Linked DNA regions of Homo sapiens: regions 2 and 3 are each linked to region 1. Evidence: promoter capture Hi-C in human tissues and cell types (Jung and others, 2019). All regions are on one chromosome and are shown on one strand. The core of a region is centred on a gene start or on the middle of the fragment in contact, and the rest is flanking DNA. Distances in the headings are between cores, read along the strand shown.

Region 1 (2,700 bases), core at 36-2,535:
GGGGTGAGAAGTAACTGCAGGAGGCGAGGGGAAGCCTGGAGCCCGGGAAGTGTCCACAGGTCTGGCCCGCAGCTCATCTTGGCCACTGATGAAAACAGGTGTTCTTTCCAAAAACAAGGCAGGCGCAGGACTCCTGAAGCACCGCCGGTTTAGCTTTTCCCAGACGTAACCGCCGTCAGAGCGTGGCATGGAGCCTGTAGCTGTGCACTGAATACTTCTATTCCAAGCGGGTCAGTCTTTCCAGCTCACCGCTGGGTTCTTTCCCTTACCGTGGTCTCCCAGGCACTTACTGCTGAGACCCCACTCAGGCTGTCTGGTTGTATCAGGCCCCGACCCTGTCAGAACAGGCCTATGGCGCCCAACCACAAGTCCCCCAATTTTCTGAGGAACCACAGCTGAGCTTGGCTGTGACTCAGTTTCCAGGCCCGGCTCTGGGGCTCCACTTGTCCACCCCTGCCGCAGCCCCACAGGCCTGTGCTCGCTGTGTGGGGCTTAGGGATCACCAGAGCTGAAGGGCCCCTGGCCTCCAGTGGGAATGCCCCAGGCCTGTCCAAAGTGCAGGCAGCTGGACGGTCGTGAGTCCCAGCTTCCAGGCACTAGGACCTGATGACGCCCATGGTGCTGACCTGGAGCAAGGTCACAGTGACACCCCCCTCTACCCCCCGCGGCTGCAGCTGCAGGTGGAGCTGACAGCTGGCCTCTGGCCCCAGGGTATCTCCCAGGGCCTGCTGGGTGCGGGGCGCTGGGCAGAACAAGGCAGCATGGCCTGGCCCTGTGTCCTGCTGCCAGTGAAGCAGGCCCAGAGTGGGGCAGCCACCCACCCAAGGGCCAGAGCGGGGCCTCTCCAGGGTGGTCAAGAGCAGGAAGGTGTAAGCACCGGCGGGTTTCACTGCCGCCCAAGGGAGGGGTCCCGGAGGTGGGGGAGCATCCTGGGGACCCCAAGCCCATGAGCCTGCGAATGTTGGGGTCCCATCAGCCAGAGGCGCACAAGCCTCGAAGTGAGAGGAGAGCAGGGTCTCATCTCCTATCCTGAGCTGGGCCTGAGCGGAGCTGCCCCTGCATCGGGGCCAGCATAGACGCGCGCGGTTGGCAGTGGTCTGTTATCCGCTCCTTTCTCCAGGCCTCCTCTCCGGGATTAAGCGCCTCAGGACCCGTCCGCCAGGCCACAGCCTGGGCTCAACCTCTCCCAGACTTCCTGGACTCCAGTGGAGCCTTGGGCCGGGGGCGGGGCGTCCCTGGCCCCTCCCCGTCGTCCCGCCTGCCCGGAAAGGAGTGAGCGGCGCCTAGTCCCGGGCTGGCGGGAGTGCAGTTCTGAGTCCCGCCCGGCGTGCGCGGAGCGGGGCAGCCAGCAGCGGAGGCGCGGCGCGCAGCACACCCGGGGTGAGTGCCCCTGCCGGGGTCTGCGGAGCCCCAGAATTTCCTGCCCACCCTCTTCCCCCTGCCCCGGGGAGGAGATCCTGGCGCCCCACCCAGTTGGCTCCGTGAATGCAGCTCAGCCCGCCACCCCGCAGGGTGTCAGGCCTTGCGGGGGGCCACGGAGGATCCCCAAGGGAGGAGGAGAAGGATGGGGTGTTTACCAACACAGCCCAGCGTTCCCGGGCCTGGTGTGCGCGGAGCTTTCCCCGCTGCTGCTTCCTTGGAGGGAGGGACCCATTCTACAGATGGGGAAGCTGAGACCACACAACTAGGAAGTGTCAGAGCTGGAGACCAGCTGGGTCATTTGACTCCAGAGCCCACCCCATTTGGAATGGAGGGGGCGCCAGACCCTCTCCTACTGCCTTCCCATCATCTGGAGGGGAGGGCAGAGGTGCAGAGAGACCTGCTGGGTTCCTGGAGGGGCCAGGAAAGGGGCACAGGGTGAGGAGTGGGCTGGAGCCTGGACCCCAGGGCCGCAGGATGGAGGCGTATTCATTTACACCATAAAAGTGGCTGGGTGACCCTGGCTAGAGCGGGGACCAAGGGGGACAGGGGTAGGGGGTGAGCCAGTGGAGCCTCACATGCCAGGCACGGGGGCTGATCACGTCCCCACACCTTTCCCCCCGCCCATTACAGGTTGTTCCCCCACCCCCTGGGAAGTGCTGGAAGGAGCCCGGCCCTCGAGCCCTCGGCATAGTGGCTGTGGGAGCCCTGATGGCCCTGAGCCAGGGGTGACCCCTCCCCAGATCCCCAGAGCTGATTCCCCACACCTCCTTATTTGGCCAGCACAGCCCCAAAGGGAGCCAGGTCAGACACAACCCTCCTCTGAGCTCACCCTTTGTGCTGGGCACATAACATTGGACTTTACCTCTCCAAGTGTCAGTGGAGTCCTGTATGAAACAAAAGCACCGTACCCCCTCCCCAAGGGTTTCTCCCCCCAGGGATTAGTGTGAGGTCGTGTGGATGAAGGGATTCAGTTGAGGCTCTGGTTATTTTTGTCACCTCCCTAGATCCTGTCTCTGTCAGGGGTGCCACGTCCCATTCACCCAAAGAGGAAGTAGAGGCACAGAGAGGGTGAGAGACTTGCCCAAGGTCACACACCCAATCTCAGCCTGGGCTCCAAGTCCCTCTGCCCTGTGGCCGGGCCTGGTCCTTAGGGATGGAACCCAGCCCCGCTGCCCCCTGCCCTGCCCACCTGCAGCCTTGGGCCATCTGCTCAGTGTTCCCTCGTTCCCTCCTTCTCTCCTTTCCCAGGCTGGGGCTGGGGCTGCGTTTCCCTGTTTA
Region 2 (2,700 bases), core at 77-2,576, 42 kb after region 1:
AATGAGAACTGAAAAGTACTTTGGATTTAGCATCACGCAGGTCCTGGTGATCCACCATTTTCAGCTAACAGGATGTCCAAAGGCCTCTGCACAAAGGGCTTGGAATGGTTCACAACAGATTGTCAATCACTTCCCACCCAAGGACTTCCCAGTCACTGTCACTCCAGAGAGCACAAGTTCTAGATCCTCTAGCAGGGCACCCAGAGCAAGACACATGTAAAACAAGCCGCTGAAAAGTGTGGAAAAAATATCATCACTTTCATTCCTTTTTTATCTCAACCGTTTTAATGTCTATTTCTTGATTTTTTTCTTTTTTTTTTGCATTTGGTGGGGACGACTCCTGTCGCCCAGGCTGGAGTGCAGTGGCACAATCTCGGTCTACTGCAACCTCCGCCTCCCAGGTTCAAGTAATTCTCCTGCCTCAGCCTCCCAAGTAGCTGGAATTACAGGTGCCCACCACTATGCCTGGCTAATTTTTCTATTTTCAGTAGAGACGGGGTTTCACCTTGTTGGCCAGGCTGGTCTCAAACTCCTGACCTCATGATCCACCTGCCTCAGCCTCCCAAAATGCTGGGATTACAGGTGTGAGCCACCGCATTCAGCCTATTTCTTGACCATTTTAATAATCAATATACAATTGGTAAAAGTGATGTGGCGATGTGTGTATCTACATCTTAGACCCACGTATGTTGGGCATGTGTGCACATGCACCCTTCTCTGTGAGCCTGCACATAATGGCAGAGATGCTCAAAAGGTGCTTACGCTGGGGCATGCAGACCAACACCCCAGACCCCTGCCTCTGAGGCTCCATCGGTCAGTGCTCTTGGCCTCAAGCCATCTGCACATGTGTGTTTCAGAGAGTGGGGTCACATTCTCTAAGTCTAGGAAGAAGCTTTTCCAACTTGGGTATCATCCATAGGAAAAAACATTGCTGTTAGCCCATGGAAAATGGGTGGCCACCAAAACCACTGGGCAGTGACCCGCTTCCTGATGGGAAGTGTGGGAACGACCAGAAAGGGGGTGAGAGAGGCATCACAGCAGCGGCAGCCAGGGCCTCCTCATCAGGTACCACACACGAATGCTCCCCTGGCTGCCATCTGCCAACATCCGAATGCTGTTTCGATTGCCATAAAGACACCAAACTTCCACAGTCTACACTCTCAGGAGGAATGAGGAATACCCACCGCTCACTCAGTCTCCGTAAGGTGGCTTCTGATAGATATACCAAGAGCCCCTCCTCGTAGAAAGATAGATCAGGATTTTCCAAGGGTAGATAAGAGGCACTGCCAAGCCCTGGAGTAGCGAAGGGTGGCTAACACTAGTTCACATCTCACACAGATGCAGAAAGACTGAATTACTTACTTGAAATTCATTTTCTTTCTGAGCTTGTTCGGATCCCTCTTTATTACAGGACCTCTATGAATGAGAAAAAGGAAACACTTCTGGTGAGATGGGGAACACTAAACAGACACTAACTTTGCAACCACCAGAACAGTCAGGGTTTACAAAACATCACAGGTCTTTAAGGAAGGTTTCTCAGCCCACCGATGTGACGGGCAGCATCTAATGCACCAGCAGCCTCCAGCACTAGTACCAACACCTTAGAAAGTGCTTCATTGCTTTACGAGAAAAGGGATGTGCCGGTGAGACCCGATAGCTGCACGTCTCACAGCCGCCCCATGTACCTTTCACAATTTCATTGTTAGAGGAAAGTCAATAGAGTGCACTCTTCCAATCAGGCCTTCTAAAGACAAGCGGTCAGGCTGAGTCTCTCACCAATTTAGCTACGTGGTTCTCTCAAGTCAACCTGCAAGAACAGGGAGTGTAAACATGCCTGTGGACAGCTGTGGTCAGCACAGAACTTGGACAGAGAAGAAAGCGCTGTGCAGGCAGGAAACCTGGCACAAAATCTGTGCAGACATGCCCTGCCGACTCGCCACTTTCCCAGAGTAACCCCTCTAGTTCAGCCGGTCACCAGCTCAAGCTGAACTGTTCCTCTACCATAAAGAGGACTGTGTGTATTTAATAAAGTCTCTAAAATTATTTCATATATTAATATATTAAGAAATACTTATATCACTTTCCTCAATGAAATTGCAAATTTATGATAACCAGGATTCTAGCAATAACAACACACTAGATCATTAACTACCATAAACAACCCTTGGGCTACATTCTTTCTCATGGTACAGATCATATATTTTAAGAGCAACCCCCCACCCCAAATGCTTTAAAATCCTTCGTACTATCTTTAATAAGGGAATGGGGAAAAGTAAAGTCAGAAACTTGTGTCACGTCAAACTTTTATACTCAAATACTGCCTCTAAAAATGTTACTTGTTAAATTAAACTAAGTCTGCTTAAGCCAGACACAAAAGGAATCCCAGAAAGGAAACCTCTTTAAAAAAATTTAAGGTAACAGATTCTTGAACACCCCATGAAAAACATACCTTTCCATTCCACAGCTTTATCAAAAATACCTGTACCAAGGGTGGAAAGTGTGGACAGGAAAAAAAATGCCACGTTAAGCAACACCAGCTACTCTAGCACCAATCAAAAACCTAGTGATTTAAAGCAACCACTCATCCATCACACACTGAAATAACATTACAGACGTTTTAATGCATGTTTTGTATAAACAGTACATGTAATATAAAAGTAAACAAAATAAGTATCCATGTTCATAAATCTATTTGCAAAA
Region 3 (2,860 bases), core at 177-2,676, 64 kb after region 1:
CTTACATATAGAAAACCCTAAAGACCCCACCAAAAAACTATGAGAACTAATAAGTTCAGTAAGATTGCAGGATACAAAATCAACATACAAAAATCAGTAGCAGTATTATTTCTAAACGGGAGGCTCAGGTGGGAAGATCACTTGAGCCCAGGAGGTCAAGGCTGGAGTGAGCTGTGATCACGCCACTGCATGCCAGCTAATAGCAAATTATCTGGAATGGAAATCAAGAAAACAATCCTGTTTACAATAGCTAACAAAAAAAAAAAGAAAAGAAAAAGAAAGAAATTTAACCAAGGAGGTGAAAGAGCTCTGCAATGAAAACTTTAAAATATTGATCAGAGAAACTGAAGACACAAATAAATGGAACAATATCCCATGTTCATGTATTAGAAGAATTAATATTGTTAAAATGTCCATACTGGCCAAGCGCGTGGCTGACGCCTGTAATCCCAACACTTTGGGAGGCTGAGGTGGGCTGATCACCTGAGGCCAGGAGTTCAAGACCAGCCTCGCCAACATGATAAAATCCTGCCTCTACTAAAAATACAAAAATTAGCTGGGCATGGTGGTGGGCGCCTGTAATCCCAGCTACTCGGGAGGCTGAGGCAGGAGAATCTCTTGAACTCAGGAGGCGGAGGTGGCAGTGAGCCAAGATCACGCCACTGCACTCCAGCCTGGGTGACAGAGCAAGACTCTGTCTCAAAAAAAAAAAAAGAAAAAAAAAAGTCCATACTACCCAAAGCAATCTATACATTCAATGCAATCCCTATCAAAATACCAATGACATTCTTCATAGAAATAGGAAAACCAATCCTAAAATTTATATGAAATCACAAAAGACCCCAGTAGCCAAAGCAATCTGGAGCAAAAAGAACAAAGCTAGAGGAATCACACTACCTAACTTCAACATATACTACAAAGTCATAGTAACCAAAACAGCATGGTGTTGGCATAAAAACAGACAGAGACCAATATAACAGAATAAAAGCCCACAAATTAATCCACACTTACAGCTACCTGATTTTCAACAAGTGTCAAGAACACAATAGGGAAAAAGACAGTCTCTTCAATAAACAGTGTTGGGAAAACTGGATATCGCACGCACAAGAATGAAATTAGATCCTTATCTCACACCATATACAAAAATAAACTCCAAAATGGATCGAAAACTTAAAGTAAGACCTGAAACTATGAAACTGCCATAAGAAAACATAGGGAAAAAGCTTCATGACCTTGGTCTGAGCCAGGAATTTTTTTTAAAAGACCTCAAAAGCACAGGCAACACAAACAAAAATAAACAAATAGGATTATAGCAGACTAAAAAGCTTCTGCACAGCAAAGGAAACAAGAGTGAAGAAACAACCTACAGAATGGAAGAATCTATTTGCAAACTATACATCAGTTAAGGGGATAATATAGAAAATATACAAGGAACTCACAGCAAAGAAAGGAAAGGAAACCAATTAAAAAATGGACACCAGCTACTCAAGAGGCTGAGGCAAGAGGATCACTAGAGCCCAGGAAGTCAAGGCTGCACTGTACTTTAGCCTGGGTGACAGAGCAAGACCCTGTTTAAAAAAAAAAAAATATATTTGCCCTAAATGGTGGCGTGTGCCTATATTCCCAGCTTGGGAGGCTGACATAGGAGGATTGTTTGAGCCTAAGAGTTTGAGGCTGAAGTAAGCTATGAATGCACCACTGTACTCCAGCCTGGATGACAGAGCAAGATTCCATCCCTCAATAACAAAAACAAGGCAAAAGACCCAACAGACATTTATCAAAAGATGACAAATAAATGGCCAGAAAGCCACATGTGGTAGGTAGCACGTGCCTGCAGTCCCAACTACTCGGGAGGTTGAGATGGGAGGATCACTTGAGCCTGGGAGGTTGAGGCTGCAAATGAGCTGTGATTGTGCTACTGCACTCCAGCCTGGGTGACGGAGCAAGACCCTGTCTCAGTAAATTTAAAAAAAATAAAATAAATGGCCAACAGGTATATGAAAAAATGCTGACCACCACTAGTCATTATTAGACTGTCTATTTTCAATGATAAAAGATAACAAACGTTGACAAGGATGTGGAGAAAAGGGAACCCTTACACACTGTTGATGGCAATGTAAGTTAGTACAGATATGAAAAACAGTATGCAGGGTCCTCAGAAAATTAAAAATAGAATTACCATTAAGATCCAGCTCCTGCTCATCAAAGCAAGTTTAAAAAAAAAAAATCCAGGCTTGGTGCAGTGGCTCATGCGTGTAATCCCCGCACTTTGGAAGGCTGAGGCGGGCAGATCACCTGAGGTCGGGAATTCGAGATCAGCCTGGCCAACATGGTGAAACTCTGTCTCTATTAAAAAAACAAAAAAATTAGCCACGCATGGTGGTGTACATCTGTAATCCCAGCTATTTGTGAGGAGGAAGCACGAGAATCACTTGAACCCGGGAGGCAGTGTTGCAGTGAGCCGAGATCACACCACTGCACTCCAGCCTGGGAGACAGAGCAAGGCTCAGTCTCAAAAAAATAAAAAATAAATAAATTAATTAAATAAAATAAAAAATTAAAAATCCAGCAATCCCATTACTGGTAATACATCCAGAGGAAATGAAATCAGTACATCAGACATCTACACTCTCATGTATATTGCAGCACTAGTCACAAAAGCCATCAATTGATTATAGAATAAATGTAAGTGTCCATCAACAGATGAATAAAGAAAATGTGGTATATATACACAGTAGAATCCTATTAAGCCTTATAAAAGCAGGAAATTCTGTCATTTGTGACAATATGGATGAACCTGGAGGACAGTACTTATATTAAGCAAAGTAAGTCAGGCACAGAAAGACAGTAACAATGTGAT

What was found. The method cuts DNA at HindIII sites, captures the fragments that hold promoters and counts their contacts. A contact is called where the count stands out against the background at its distance.
Region 2: a fragment that was not itself captured here is called in contact with the fragment with the promoter of TCIRG1 in region 1 in 1 of the 25 tissues and cell types used here (psoas muscle).
Region 3: a contact is called between a fragment that was not itself captured here and the fragment with the promoter of TCIRG1 in region 1, in 2 of the 25 tissues and cell types used here (lymphoblastoid cells and small bowel).

Annotation. Positions count from the first base shown.
Region 1 is chr11:68,037,740-68,040,439 of GRCh38, forward strand. It overlaps TCIRG1 (T cell immune regulator 1, ATPase H+ transporting V0 subunit a3), which reads left to right and starts at 1,286. Exons shown (of 20, transcript NM_006019.4): 1 at 1,286-1,380. RefSeq lists an enhancer at 645-1,266 and silencers at 1,158-1,337, 1,398-1,477. The HindIII fragment of the contact is 15,208 bases long and covers 1-2,700 here.
Region 2 is chr11:68,080,042-68,082,741 of GRCh38, forward strand. It overlaps CHKA (choline kinase alpha), which reads right to left. Exons shown (of 12, transcript NM_001277.3): 3 at 1,363-1,416. Among named protein-coding and RNA genes, the nearest start is that of MIR6753, 37 kb to the left of the region's middle. The HindIII fragment of the contact is 3,675 bases long and covers 1-2,700 here.
Region 3 is chr11:68,101,399-68,104,258 of GRCh38, forward strand. The region is part of intron 1 of CHKA (choline kinase alpha); the gene reads right to left. Among named protein-coding and RNA genes, the nearest start is that of CHKA, 19 kb to the right of the region's middle. RefSeq lists a silencer at 2,123-2,323. The HindIII fragment of the contact is 5,457 bases long and covers 1-2,860 here.